5 separate regions of the Homo sapiens genome follow, and all the other regions are linked to region 1. Evidence: promoter capture Hi-C in human tissues and cell types (Jung and others, 2019). All regions are on one chromosome and are shown on one strand. Each heading gives the region's core, a stretch centred on a gene start or on the middle of the fragment in contact. The rest is flanking DNA. Distances are from core to core; before and after follow the strand shown.

The links. The method cuts DNA at HindIII sites, captures the fragments that hold promoters and counts their contacts. A contact is called where the count stands out against the background at its distance.
Region 2: the fragment with the promoter of ZNF442 here is called in contact with the fragment with the promoter of ZNF823 in region 1 in 7 of the 25 tissues and cell types used here (IMR-90 fibroblasts, aorta, lymphoblastoid cells and 4 more).
Region 3: a contact is called between the fragment with the promoter of ZNF799 here and the fragment with the promoter of ZNF823 in region 1, in 2 of the 25 tissues and cell types used here (liver and lymphoblastoid cells).
Region 4: the fragment with the promoter of ZNF443 here is called in contact with the fragment with the promoter of ZNF823 in region 1 in 5 of the 25 tissues and cell types used here (IMR-90 fibroblasts, adrenal gland, aorta and 2 more).
Region 5: a fragment that was not itself captured here is called in contact with the fragment with the promoter of ZNF823 in region 1 in 1 of the 25 tissues and cell types used here (dorsolateral prefrontal cortex).

The regions. Positions count from the first base shown.
Region 1 is chr19:11,737,663-11,740,362 of GRCh38, forward strand. It overlaps ZNF823 (zinc finger protein 823), which reads right to left and starts at 1,284. Exons shown (of 4, transcript NM_001080493.4): 1 at 1,155-1,284. The coding sequence starts at 1,157. RefSeq lists enhancers at 658-787, 1,178-1,257 and silencers at 858-1,007, 1,268-1,462. The HindIII fragment of the contact is 18,648 bases long and covers 1-2,700 here.
Region 2 is chr19:12,364,409-12,367,108 of GRCh38, forward strand. It overlaps ZNF442 (zinc finger protein 442), which reads right to left and starts at 1,275. Exons shown (of 6, transcript NM_030824.3): 1 at 1,125-1,275; 2 at 394-835. RefSeq lists a silencer at 809-988 and an enhancer at 1,089-1,188. The HindIII fragment of the contact is 16,775 bases long and covers 1-2,280 here.
Region 3 is chr19:12,399,987-12,402,686 of GRCh38, forward strand. ZNF799 (zinc finger protein 799) reads right to left here and starts at 1,285. Exons shown (of 4, transcript NM_001080821.3): 1 at 1,082-1,285. The coding sequence starts at 1,084. RefSeq lists enhancers at 580-669, 1,390-1,439 and a silencer at 900-1,059. The HindIII fragment of the contact is 18,323 bases long and covers 1-2,700 here.
Region 4 is chr19:12,439,610-12,442,309 of GRCh38, forward strand. ZNF443 (zinc finger protein 443) reads right to left here and starts at 1,412. Exons shown (of 4, transcript NM_005815.5): 1 at 1,303-1,412. The coding sequence starts at 1,305. RefSeq lists a silencer at 1,091-1,180 and an enhancer at 1,591-1,860. The HindIII fragment of the contact is 16,773 bases long and covers 1-2,700 here.
Region 5 is chr19:12,284,789-12,287,488 of GRCh38, forward strand. The region is part of intron 1 of ZNF44 (zinc finger protein 44); the gene reads right to left. It also overlaps the pseudogene RPS2P53. Among named protein-coding and RNA genes, the nearest start is that of ZNF44, 8.7 kb to the right of the region's middle. The HindIII fragment of the contact is 8,559 bases long and covers 1-2,700 here.

The DNA.
Region 1 (2,700 bases), core at 34-2,533:
AGCCATACATTGCTATGTGAAAAGAAAGTGACAATTAAAATAATGCCTCTGTTTGAAATATTGCCTGAGGGACAAAGAGTTCATAAAGTTGCTGGGAATTGATGAGAGACAGTTAGCCTGGGGAAGGCTCTGAAAACCAAGAGATTTGCTGCCAGCCCTAGGAGGAGTTAGGATGAGGGGATAGGGTGGTGGATTTGAGACCCTGCTGCCCACATCTTTGGAAGACTCGGAGGGAAACCGGTCACCTTTGGGAAGAAAGAAGGGACTGGGGAACCCACAGATCACAGCTTCTCTTCCAAAGCACAAAGCCCACACACACGAGTCTGGATTCTGCCTGGTGACCCTCCGTTGTCACCGTGCAGCGTCCTCACCGGGTTCACAGGAACTGCGAGCCAGGCTGGAGGCGAGATTGCAGTTAGATATTAACCAGGTGCCCTCAGCCCCGCTGCCTCACGGGGCCGCCTCCCTGAGAGTCAGGTCACAGCAGACGCTGACCGCCGGCTTCCTCATCGTGCCCGGGGATAAGATCTCTTGAGAGTTGCTCACGGGTCGCCTCAGTTCTTTCTCGGATCCTGAATTGCAGCGGAAAGGCTGGCGCCAACCAGGCTGAAGACCCCACAAGGGAACCCACTCAGCAGAATGCGGTTTCTTCACCTCCAGTCCCAGGAGTCACCTCTCACTTCTCCACCAACCAGCGACCCCACACTCCAGCCGTCCCTGTCCACACCTCTAAACACCCCATCCCCAAACCTCTCAGGGAGGCGGATCTGGGGTGTCCTCCCCTCTCCCCCATTAAACTGTTTCTGCTGCAGCCTTCGGCGTCTCGGTGCAGTGACTCGGGCCGTGAACCTGTGCCGGTTACAACTGCACAATCTGGGGAGACGCGGAGCTGCGGGCGCGGAGCTGCCCAGAGAGGGCGCCGGGGCCGGGGCCGCAGCGGCCGAGCAGGGACGGGACAGGACGCCCGGGGTCCCGGCTGCCGCCCCAGCCCCATCTTGCGGCCCAGGGGACCAAGGGCAGAGCTGCGCCAGGGGCACTGGGATTTGCAGACCCCGGAGTCGCCCAGGGCGAGGCCCGGGTCCCCTCACGGTCGGTTCCGGCCGGTTCCAACCTGCCCCTTCTTTGCCTCGGGACGCCGGGCCCCGCACACTCACCATTTCCCAGCTTCCAGGTGTCCGGGTGTCCTCCTTAAAAGCCAGTGTGGGTCCCAGCGCGACAGACGCTGATACAGACCTTCCAGGGCGTCTCTCTCTCAGCGCCAGAGCCAGGACTCAGAGCGCAGGGGCGTGGAGAAGACTCCGCGGGCTCTTTGAACGTCGCACCCTCCTCCCTGCAGCGTGCCTGATTGACAGTTCTCACAATCCCCGCCCCCTCATCCCTGATTGGATAGTGCTCCAGGTCCCGCCCCTTGGTGGCTGATTGACAGAAGAAGCGATCTCACAGTGCTGAGTGGAGCCGGATGAACAGGTTCCAGGCACGACCCTTGGCAAGGCGGGCTTCCTCCCAACGGAGTGACCTGACCCCTCCCGAAGTGACGTTTGCATTTTAGAATTTCCTGATTGTATTCAGTGGGTTCTTCCTGCTTTTTCCTCCTGGACAGGGACTCACAAGTGTGTGCAGGGAATTCCAGGCTCCCTGTCCAGTGGAGCCATTCCCGGACCTCGGAGCAGGAGGGGAGCCCGGGGCACACAGGCCACCCTGCAGCAGGAGGGAGGGCCTGATGTCCTCCAGGGATCAGGAATTTGGGATGAGGCTGTTGGCGACGTTGCCAAGCCTTTCCCTCACCTTATCTCTCAATCTACTCATTTTCAGCCCAGAAGATAAAAACAGGACAACAAAATAAAATAGTTGAGTATGTGGAAAAACTGGAATTATATGGCAGCAATATTTCATAAAGAATCAAAAGAGAAGAAAAGCAAAAACTTGAACAAGCTCAGAGAAGCAGCCTACTGCACTCACAGTTCACAAGCAGACCCCCTTTCAGGAGGTCAAACATATCCCCAAGCTGGGAAGCCAGGCAATGATTCCTAAAATGGAGCTCCGGGGTGGATCAGAAGCTGGTGATAAGGGAGGGACAATTAAGAATTTTACTCTGAGGTCTCAAAATACCTGTCCCCTCTGCACAGCGTGGAAATGCTCCCTCCTTATGCCATTAAATGTTAATGAATTAAACGCTCCAATCAAAAGCCAAGACATCACACTTTGAATTTGAAAACATTAGCCTTTCTCCATATGTTTATGAAGTAAAAATACTAGACTTAAAAGCGTTATGGCCGGGCGCGGTGGCTCACGCCTGTAATCCCAGCACTTTGGGAGGCTGAGGCGGGTGGATCACCTGAGGTCGGGAGTTTGAGACCAGCCTGACAAACATGATGAAACCCCGTTTCTACTAAAAACGCAAAATTAGCCGGGTGTGGTGGCACGCTCCTGTAATCCCGGCTCCTCAGGAAGCTGAGGCAGGAGTATCGCTTGAACCCGGCAGGCAGAGGTTGCAGTGAGCCGACATCACACCACTGCACTCCAGCCTGGGCAACAGAGCGAGGAAAAAAAAAAACTCCATCTCAAAAAAAAAAAAAAAAAAGCGTTATGAACTAGAAGCTGGTAGCCATGGCTAAATAGAAAGGAGCTGAACATGAGATGTCAATAGATGAAATGAAATCTTCAATCAACTTCTAGAAACTATAGCATTTTCTGCCAGGA
Region 2 (2,700 bases), core at 25-2,524, 630 kb after region 1:
AAAAAAAAAAAAAGAAAGAAAGAAAAAAAGAAGCCATCCATTGCTCTCTGAAAACAAAATGAAAATTAAAATACTGGGACTCTGAAATTTAGCACGGGTGGGGCGGAGGAGGGAGGAGTTCATGATGTTGCTGTGAACTGAGGAGGGAAAGTTAGCCTGCGTAAGGCTCTGGAAACCAAGGGAGTTACTACCACCCCTAGGAGGAGTTAGAATGAGGGAACAGGGTAGTGGATTTGAGACCCTGCTACCCCCATCTCTGAAAAACTCGAAGAGGAATCAGTCACCCTGGGAAGAAAAGAAGGGACTGGGGACCCCGCAGACCACAGCTCCTCCCGTGCACAAACCCCACGCAAGAATCTGGATTCTGATTGCAGTTAGATATTAACCAGGTACCCTGAGCCCCACTGCCTCGCGGGGGCCGCCTTCCTGAGAGTCAGGTCACAGAAGACACTGACCGCCGGCTTCTGCATTGTGCCTGGGGATAAGATCTCGGAGAGCTGCTCGAGTTGCCCAAGTTCTTTCTCAGATCTTGAATTCCAACGGAAAGGCTGGCGCCAAGCAGGGTGAAAACCCCACGAGGGAACCCACTCAGCAGGAGAATGCGGTTTCTTCACCTCCCGTCCCAGGATTCGCCTGTCACTTCCCCACCAACCAGCGACCCCACACTTCAGCCGCCCCTGTCCAGACCCCTAAACACCCCCATCCCCAAACCTCTCATGGAGGCGGAACTGGGGTCTTCTCTCCTCTCCCCCTATTAAACTGTTTCTGCTGCAGGCCTTGGAGTCTCGGTGCAGTGACTCGGACCGCGAACCTGTGCCGGTTACAGCCGCACAATCTGGGAAGACGCGGAGCTGTGGGCATGGAGCTGCCCCAGAGAGGGCGCGGGAGCCGGGGCCGCAGTTGCTGCGCAGAAACGGGACAGGACGCCCGGGGTCCCGGCTGCCGGCCCAGCCCCCAGCTCCCACCCCGCGGCCGAGGGGACTGAAGGCCGGCTGGGCCAGGGGAACTCGGGTCCACAGACCCCGCAGTCGCCGCGGGGACGCCCGGGTCCCGCCACAGCCGGTTCTGGCCGGTTCCAACCAGTCCTTCGCCCTGCCCCAGGACGCCGGGCCCCGCACACTCACCATTTCCCGGCTTCCGCGGTGTCCCGTGTTCTCCCCAAGGTTCCCCGCTGCCAGCATAGGACTCAGCGTGACAGTGCCTGCCACTGACCTGCCAGGGCTTCTCTCAGCTACAGAGCCAGGAGCGGGAGCTCAGAGGGGTGTAGAAAGCTCCACCCTCCTCCCGGCAGCGCGCCTGACTGGCAGTTCCCAAGAACTCGCCCCCAACACTGATTGGGTAGAGCTCCAAATTCCGCCCCCCCAGGGAACTGATTGACAGAAGAAGGATCTTACACGGCTGAGTGGAGCGAGATGAAGCGGTTCCAGACACAGCCCTTGATAGGGTGGGCTTCCTCCCTTCGCTGTGACCTGACCCCTCCCAGGGGACATTTGCATTTAAGCGGAATTTCCTGCCTGTACTCAATGGGCTCTTCCTGCTCCTTCTTCCTGGACGGGGACCCACAAGTGTGTGCTGGGAATTCGAGACTCACTGCCCAGTGGAGCCATCCCCTGGCCTCAGAGCGGTAGGGGAGGCCCAGGCCACACAAACCACACTGAAGCAGGAGGGAAGGCCTGGTGTCCTCCAGGGATCAGGAATTTAGGATGAGACTGCTGGCTCCATGGTCAAGCCTTTCTCCCACCTTATCTCCCAATCTACTCATTCTCAGACCAGAAAATAAAAACACATCAACAATGAAATAAAATTGTTAAATGCATGGAAAATCTGGAATTATATGGCAGTAATCTTCTATAAAGGAATCAAAAGAAGGGAAAAGAAAAAACCTGAATTAGTTCAGAGAAATTTCAGCCACAGTTCAGCAGGAAACCCCCTTTCAGGAGGTTAAACATATTTTCAAGCTTAGAAGGCAGATTCTGACTCCTGAAGTTGAGTCCCAGAGTGTGTAACCAGCAGCTTAGCAGCTGAGTCTCAAACCACGTTTTAAACCTTTTTTTTCTTCTTCTTTCCCTTTTCCTCTTTCCCCTCCTGATCTCAAGATAATAACTTCGAGATAAACTGCATAGATGTTACCTCTCATCTTAAAATACAGCCTCAGAATGTGCTGTGAACTTCCACTCCCTTTCCTTTCCCATACTACACTGCCATGCCTTATGCACATTTATTTTTATTTTATTTTTTTGGAGACGGAGTCTCACTCTGTCACCCAGGACAGACTGTAGTGGCTCAATCTTGGCTCACTGCAACCTCCGCCTCCCAAGTTGAAGCAATTCTCCTGCCTCAGCCTCCCGAGTAGCACACTGGACTACAGGTGCACGCTGCCATGCCCAGCTAATTTTTTTGTATTTTAGTAGAGACAGGGTTTCACCATGTTGCCCAGGCTGGTCGTGAACTCCTGAGCTCAGGCAATCCGCCGGCCTCGGCCTCCCAAAGTGTTAGGATTACAGGCGTGAGCCACCACGCCTGGCCTGTGCACATTTATTTACCTAAATACTTATTAAGCACACACCATGCTCTCTTATTTGGTCATATATTTCCTTAGAAGCTTCAGGGGTTGGATCTTGTTAGGTACCAGGCACCTCTGGAATTCTCTTTCCAACAAAAGATTACTTCAAAGACAGAACCCACACCCAGCTGAAGAGT
Region 3 (2,700 bases), core at 35-2,534, 660 kb after region 1:
CTAGCTGAAAACAAGATGACAAACTAGTGAAATATCGCCTGGGGGCCAAACAGTTCATACCGTTGCTGTGAATTAAGGACAGAAGGTTAGCCTGGGGAAGTCTCTGGAAACCAAGAGATTTGCTGCCAGCCCTAGGAGGAGTCAGGATGAGAGAACACAGTGGTGGATTTGAGACCCTGCTAACCACATCTTTGGAAGACTCAGAGGGGAAACGGTCGCCCTTGGAAAGAAAGAAGGGACTGAGGACCACGGAGACCACAGCTCCTCCCACACACAAACCCCACACACGAGTCTGGATTCCACCTGGTGACTCGTCGTCACCGTGCAGCCTCCTCACCGGGTTCACAGGAACTGCGAGCCAGGCTGGAGGCGAGATTGCAGTTAGATATTAACCAGGTGCCCTCAGCCCCGCTGCCTCAAGGGGCCGCCTCCCTGAGAGTCAGGTCACAGCAGACGCTGACCGCCGGCTTCCCCATTGTGCCTGGGGATAAGATCTCTGAGAACTGCTCAAGAGTCGCCGGAGTTCTCAGATCCTGAATCCCAGCAAAGGCTGGCGCCAATCAGGTTGAAGTCCCAACGAGGGAGCCCATTCAGCAGAATGCGGTTTCTTCACCTCCTGTCCCAGGATTCACCCCTCACTTCCCCACCAACCAACGACCCTACACCCAGCCGCCCCCGTCCAGACCCCAAATCCCTCAGGGAGGCGGATCTGGGGTGTCCTCCCCTCTCTGGCTATTAAACTGTTTCTGCTGCAGCCCTCAGCGTCTCGGTGCAGTGAGTCGGGCCGCGAACCTGTGTTGCTTACAGCCGCACAATCTCGGGAGACGCGAGGCTGCGGGCGCGGAGCTGCCCAGAGAGGGCGCCGGGGCCGCAGTCGCCGCGCAGGAACGGGACAGGACGCCCGGGGTCCCGGCTGCATGCCCAGCCCCACCCTGCGGCCGAGGGCCGACCTACGCCAGGGGAACCCGGGTCCGTAGATCCCGGAGTAGCCCTTGGGGAGGCCCGGGTCCAGCCACAGCCGATTACTGCAGGTTCCACCCAGCCCCTCCCCCGCCTCGGGACGCCGGCCCAGCACACGCACCATTTCCCGACTTCCGCGGTGTCCCAGGTCCTCCGGACGGCTCCCGCTGCCAATGCGGGTTCCCGCGGGACACAGGCTGCCACGGAACTTCCAGGTCGTCTCTTAGCTACAGAGCCGAGCACCGAGCGCCCAGCGCAGGTGGGTGGAGAAGACGCCGCGGGCTTTTTCAACCACACACTCCTCTGGGAAGCGCGCCTGATTGACAGTTCCCACGAACCCGCCCCACGGCCCTTACTGGATACGGCGTCAGGTGCCGCCCCTCGTGGACTGATTGACAGAAGAAGCGATCTTGCACAGCTGAGTGGAGCCAGATGAGCAAGTTCCTGACACAGCCCTTGGCAGGGCGGGCTTCCTCCCTGCTCTTTGATCTGAATCCTCCCGAGGGATATTTGCACTTAAGCGGAATTTCCTGCCTGTACTCAATAGGACCTCCTGCTTCTTCCTCCTGTACACTGACTGACAAAACAATTATACTTTTTTTTTTTTTTTTTTTTTTTTTTCCGAGAGAGAGAGAGAGAGAGAGAGAGAGAGAGGGAGTCTTGCTCCGTGGCTCAGGCTAGAGTGCAATGGTGCGAGGCTCACTGCGACCTCCGCCTCCTAGGTGGGTTCAAACAATTCTGCCTCAGCCTCCCGAGTAGCTGGGATTACAGGTGCGCGCCACCACACCCGGCTAATTTTTGTATGTTTTAGTAGAGGCCGGGTTTCACCATGTTGGCCAGGCTGGTCTCGAACTCCTGACCTCGTGATCCGCCCACCTTGGCCTCCCAAAGTTCTGGGATTAGAGACGTGAGCCATCGCGCCTGGCTCCAATTATACTCTTTTTCAATGAAATTTTTCAAAATATTTCAATGTACAATTAAATTATTTTTTACTATAGTCACTCTGTTGTGCTAGCAAATACTAGGTCTTATTCATTCTTTGTAACTATTTTTTATACCTATTAACCATCCCCACTTCCCCCATAACTACTCCTCGCTACTACTTTTCCCAGCCTGTGGTAACCATCCTTCTACACGTTTTTGGTTGTTTGAGATGGGGTCTTGCTCTGTTGCCTAGGCTGGAGTGCAGTGGGGCCATCATGGCTCACTGCAACCTCTACCTCCCAAGCTCAAGCAATCCTCCCACCTCAGCCTCTCAAGTAGCTTCAGATTGTTCACTGTTGGCATATAAAAATGTTACTGATTTTTGTATGTTAATATTGTATCCTGCAACTTTACTGAATTTATTTCTCAGTTCTAATACTTTTTTGGTGGAGTCTTTAGGTATTTCCAGATATAAGATCATATTATATGCAAACCAGGATAATTTGACTTCTTCCTTTCCTTCCCAATATAGATGCCCTTTATTTCTTTTTTTTTTTTTTTTTGGACTTATTGCTCTAGCTGGGACTTCGAGTACTGTGCTGAACAACAGTGGTAAAAGTGGGCATTCTTATTGTGTTCCAGATCTTACAGGAAAGGCTTTCAGTTTTTCCTCATTCATTATCATGCTAGCTGTGGGTCTGCCATATATGGCTTTTATTATGTTAAGGTAGCTGCTTCTATACCCAGTTTTTTTTTAGGGTTTTTATCATGAAGGGATGTTAAATATTATCAAAAGCTTTTTCAGTGCACATTGAA
Region 4 (2,700 bases), core at 162-2,661, 700 kb after region 1:
AGGAGTAGCTGCGACTACAGGTGCCAGCTACCAAGCCCAGCTAATTTTATTATTATCATTTACACTAGAGACAAAGTCTTGCCATGTTGCCCAGGCTGGTCTGGAACTACTGGGATCAAGCAATACCTCTGCCTTAGCCTCCCAAGGTGCTGGAATTACAGGAATGACCCACCGTGTTCAGGAACCCAAAACAATTCTTTCAAGAAAAAGCCATACATTGCTAGCTGAAAACAAGATGACAAACTAGTGAAATATCGCCTGGGGCCAAACAGTTCATACTGTTGCTGTGAATTAAGGACAGAAGGTTAGCCTGGGGAAGTCTCTGGAAACCAAGAGATTTGCTGCCAGCCCTAGGAAGAGTCAGGATGAGAGAACACAGTGGTGGATTTGAGACCCTGCTGCCCACGTCTTTGGAAGACTCAGAGGGGAAACGGTCGCCCTTGGAAAGGAAGAAAGGACTGAGGACCACGGAAACCACAGCTCCTCCCACACACAAACCCCACACACGAGTCTGGATTCCACCTGGTGACTCGTCGTCACCGTGCAGCCTCCTCACCGGGTTCACAGGAACTGCGAGCCAGGCTGGAGGCGAGATTGCAGTTAGATATTAAACAGGTGCCCTCAGCCCCGCTGCCTCAAGGGGCCGCCTCCCTGAGAGTCAGGTCACAGCAGACGCTGACCGCCGGCTTCCCCATTGTGCCTGGGGATAAGATCTCCGAGTGCTGCTCAAGAGTCGCCGGAGTTCTCAGATCCTGAATCCCAGCAGAAAGGCTGGCGCCAACCAGGTTGAAGACCCCACGAGGGAGCCCTCTCAGCAGAATGCGGTTTCTTCACCTCCTGTCCCAGGATTCACCCCTCACTTCCCCACCAACCAAGGACGCTACACCCAGCCGCCCCCGTCCAGACCCCAAATCCCTCAGGGAGGCGGATCTGGGGTGTCCTCCCCTCTCCTCCTGTTAAACCGTTTCTGCTGCAGCCCTCGGCGTCTCGGTGCAGTGAGTCGGGCCGCGAACCTGTGTTGGTTACAGCCGCACAATCTGGGGAGACCCGGGGCTGCGGGCTCGGAGCTGCCCAGAGAGGGCGCCGGGGCCGCAGTCGCCGCGCAGGAACGGGACAGGACGCCCGGGGTCCCGGCTGCATGCCCAGCCCCACCCTGCGGCCGAGGGCCGACCTACGCCAGGGGGACCCGGGTCCGTAGATCCCGAAGTCGCCCTTGGGGAGGCCCGGGTCCAGCCACAGCCGATTACGGCCGGTTCCACCTAACCCCTCCCCCGCCTCGGGACGCCGGCCCAGCACACGCACCATTTCCCGACTTCCGCGGTGTCCCAGGTCCTACCGACAGCTCCCGCTGCCAATGCGTGTTCCAGCCAGACAAAGGCTGCCTCAGAACTTCCAGGTCGTCTCTCAGCTACAGAACCCAGAGCCGAGCGCAGGTGGGTGGAGCAGACGCCGCGGGCTTTTTCAACCACACACACTTCTCTGGGCAGTGCCTGATTGACAGTTCCCACGAACCCGCCCCACGCCCCTGATTGGATAGGGCGTCAGGTCCCGCCCCCTGAGGGCTGATTGACAGAAGAAGCGATCTTGCACAGCTGAGTGGAGCCGGATGAGCAAGTTCCTGACACAGCCCTTGGCAGGGGGGGCTTCCTCCCTGCTCTTTGATCTGAATCCTCCCGGGTTATATTTGCACTTAAGCGGAATTTCCTGCCCGTACTCAATAGGACCTCCTGCTTCTTCCTCCTGGACACGGACTGACAAACTAATTATATCTTTTTTTTTTTTTTTCCTCGAGAGGGAGTCTTGCTCTGTCGCCCAGGCTAGAGTGCAATGGTGCGAGGCTCACTGCAACCTTCGCCTCCTGGGTGGGTTCAAGCAATTCTCCTGCCTCAGCCTCCCGAGTAGCTAGGATTACAGGCACGCGCCACCACCCGGCTAATTTTTGTATTTTTCAGTAGAGGCTGGGTTTCACCATGTTGGCCAGGCTGGTCTCAAACTCGTGACCTCGTGATCCGCCTACCTTGGCCTCCCAAAGTTCTGGGATTAGAGGCGTGAGCAACTGCGCCTGGCTCCAATTATGCTCTTTTTCAATGAAATTTTTCAAGATTTTTCAATGTACAATTAAATTATTTTTTACTATAGTCACTCTGTTGTGCTAGCAAATACTAGGTCTTATTCATTCTTTGTAACTATTTTTTATACCTATTAACCATCCCCACTTCCCCCATAACTACTCCTCGCTACTACTTTTCGCAGCCTCTGGTAACCATCCTTCTACACATTTTTGGTTGTTTGAGATGGGGTCTTGCTCTGTTACCTAGGCTGGAGTGCAGTGGGGCCATCATGGCTCACTGCAACCTCTACCTCCTAAGCTCAAGCAATCCTCCCACCTCAGCCTCTCAAGTAGCTTCAGATTGTTCACTGTTGGCATATAAAAATGTTATTGATTTTTGTGTGTTGATATTGTATACTGCAACTTTACTGAATTTATTTCTCAGTTCTAATACTTTTTTGGTGGAGTCTTTAGGTATTTCCAGATATAAGATCATATTATATGCAAACAAGGATAATTTGACTTCTTCCTTCCCAATATGGATGCCCTTTATTTCTTTTTTTTTCTTTTTTTTTTTTTTGTCTTATTGCTCTAGCTGGGACTTCAAGTACTGTGTTGAACAACAGTGGTAAAAGTGGGCATTCTTATTG
Region 5 (2,700 bases), core at 109-2,608, 550 kb after region 1:
TGTCCTCGTGCGCAGAGGCTACTGGGGGAACAAGATCGGCAAGCCCCACACCGTCCCTTGCAAGGTGACAGGCCACTGCGGCTCTGTGCTGGTGCGCCTCATCCCCGCACCCAGGGACACTGGCATCGTCTCAGCGCCTGTGCCCAAGAAGCTGCTCATGATGGCTGGTATCAGTGACTGATACACCTCAGCCCGGGGCTGCACTGCCATCCTGGGCAACTTCGCCAAGGCCACCTTTGATGTCATCTCTAAGACCTACAGCTACCTAACCCCTGACCTCTGGAAGGAGACTGTATTCACCAAGTCTCCCTATCAGGAATTCACTGACCACCTCGTTAAGACCCACACCAGAGTCTCTGTGCAGAGGACCCAGGCTCCAGCTGTGGCTACAACATAGGGCTTTCATACAAGAAAAATAAAGTAAATTAAGCCTGAAAAAAATGTATAAACAGACATGTATGCATTGTTTGTTTGTTTGTTTTTTGAGACAGATTTTCACTCTTGTTGCCCAGGCTGGAGTGCAAAGACGCGATCTCGGCTCACTGCAACCTCCACCTCCCGGGTCCAAGCAATTCTCCTGGCTCAGCCTCCCGAGTAGCTGGGATTACAGGCGCCCGCCACCACGTCCGGATATTTTGTGCTTTTAGTAGAAATGGTGTTTCACCATGTTGGCCAGGCTAATCTCAAACTCCTGACCTCAGGTGATCCACCCACCAAGGCTTCCCAAAGTGCTGGGACAACAGGCGTGAGCCACAGCACCCGGCCTGGTCAGACAGTTAATCCACACATGCTATTATGATTTCCTAGTAAACTGAAGTTTGTCTATAATCTATAACCCAGCAATGTTCCCCCATGTGTTGAAAAATTCATGAACTGTTAGCATGTAGAGACAAAACCAAAAATAACATTGTCAACAACATCAAAAAATTAACTTAAAAGTCAAGTCCTGGCCAGGCGCGGTGGCTCACGCCTGTAATCCTAACACTTTGGGAGGCCGAGGCTGGCGGATCACGAGGTCAGGAGATCGAGACCATCCTGGAGAACACAATGAAACCCCATCTCTACTAAAAATACAAAAAAATTAGCCAGGCGTGGTGGCGGGCGCCTGTAGTCCCAGCTACTCAGGAGGCTGAGGCAGGAGAATGGCGTGAACCCGGGGGTCAGAGCTTGCAGTGAGCCGAGATCACGCCACTGCACTCTAGCCTGGGTGACAGAGCGAGACTCCATCTCAAAAAAAACTCAAAAAAAAGTCAAGTCCTATGAGCACTGCAATGTGTGAGTAAACTGCATGACCCATAGCCTCAGATTTTAGCATGTGTCAAACAGATTGAGGCAAATAAAGAAAACAAAAATCTTTTCAGCACAATTTTTGTGTTTTTCCCCCGTTCATCCTTTCTTGATGTCTCTGAATCAAATCAATATTCTCTAGTGTTCCAATTTAGTTACTAATTATATTTACATTTTAGTGATATCTTTTTGCATTATATTTTAACAGGTTGCTCTGATGAACTAGTTCTCATGCATGAGAATCATCTGAAGGGCTTGTTAAAAAACAGGCCATTGGAGGCCGGGCGCGGTGGCTCATGCCTGTAATCCCAGCACTTTGGGAGACCGAGGTGGGTGGATCACAAAGTCAGGAGTTCGAGACCAGCATGGCCAAGATGATGAAACCCCGTCTCTACTAAAAATACAAAAATTAGCCGGGCGTGGTGGCGGGTGCCTGTAGTCCTAGCTGCTCGGGAGGCTGAGGCAGAAAATTGCTTGAACCTGGGAGGCAGAGGTAGGTTGCAGTGAGCTGAGATTGTGCTACTGCACTCCAGCCTGGGTGAAAGAGCGAGACTTGGTCTCAAAAAAAAGAAAGAAAGAAAACAGATCATTGGGGCTGGTTGCAGTGGCTCACATCTGTAATCCCAGCACTTTGGGAGGCTGAGGCAGGTGGATCTCTTGAGGTCAGGAGTTCGAGACCAGCCTGGCCAACATGGTGAAACTCCATCTCTACTAAAAATACAAAAATTAGCCAGGCGTGGTGGTGCACACCTGTAGTCCCAGCTACTCGGGAGGCTGAGGCAGAGGTTGCAGTGAGCCAAGATTGCACCACTGCACTCCAGCCTGGGCAATAGAGTAAGACTCTGTCTCAAAAATAAAAAATAAAAAAAAAATCATTGGGCCCCATTCCAAGAATTACTAATTCAGTAGCCTTGGGTAATACCCTAAAATGTGCATTCCTTTTATATATATATATACACACACACACACACGTATAATATATATATATATACACATATATGTATAAATTATATATATATATTCATGGAGTACCAGTGCAATTTTACTACATTGATATATTGCCTTGTAAAGTCAGGCCTTTCAGTGCATCCATCCCTGGAGCAACCCCCATTATCCACCAAATAACCTCCCTCATCCCCATGAGTCTTCACTGTCCACATATATACACATTCTTCTTTTTTTTTCCTTGAGACGGAATCTCGCTCTGTCACCCACTGCAGCCTCCGCCTCCTGGGTTCAAGGGATTCTCCTGCCTCAGCCTCCCGAGTAGCTGGGACTACAGGCATGTGCCACCACGCCTGGCTAATTTTTTGTATTTTTAGTAGAGATGGGGTTTCACCGCATTAGCCAGGATGGTCTTGATCTCCTGACCTCGTGATCCACCTGCCTCAGCCTCCCAAAGTGCTGGGATTA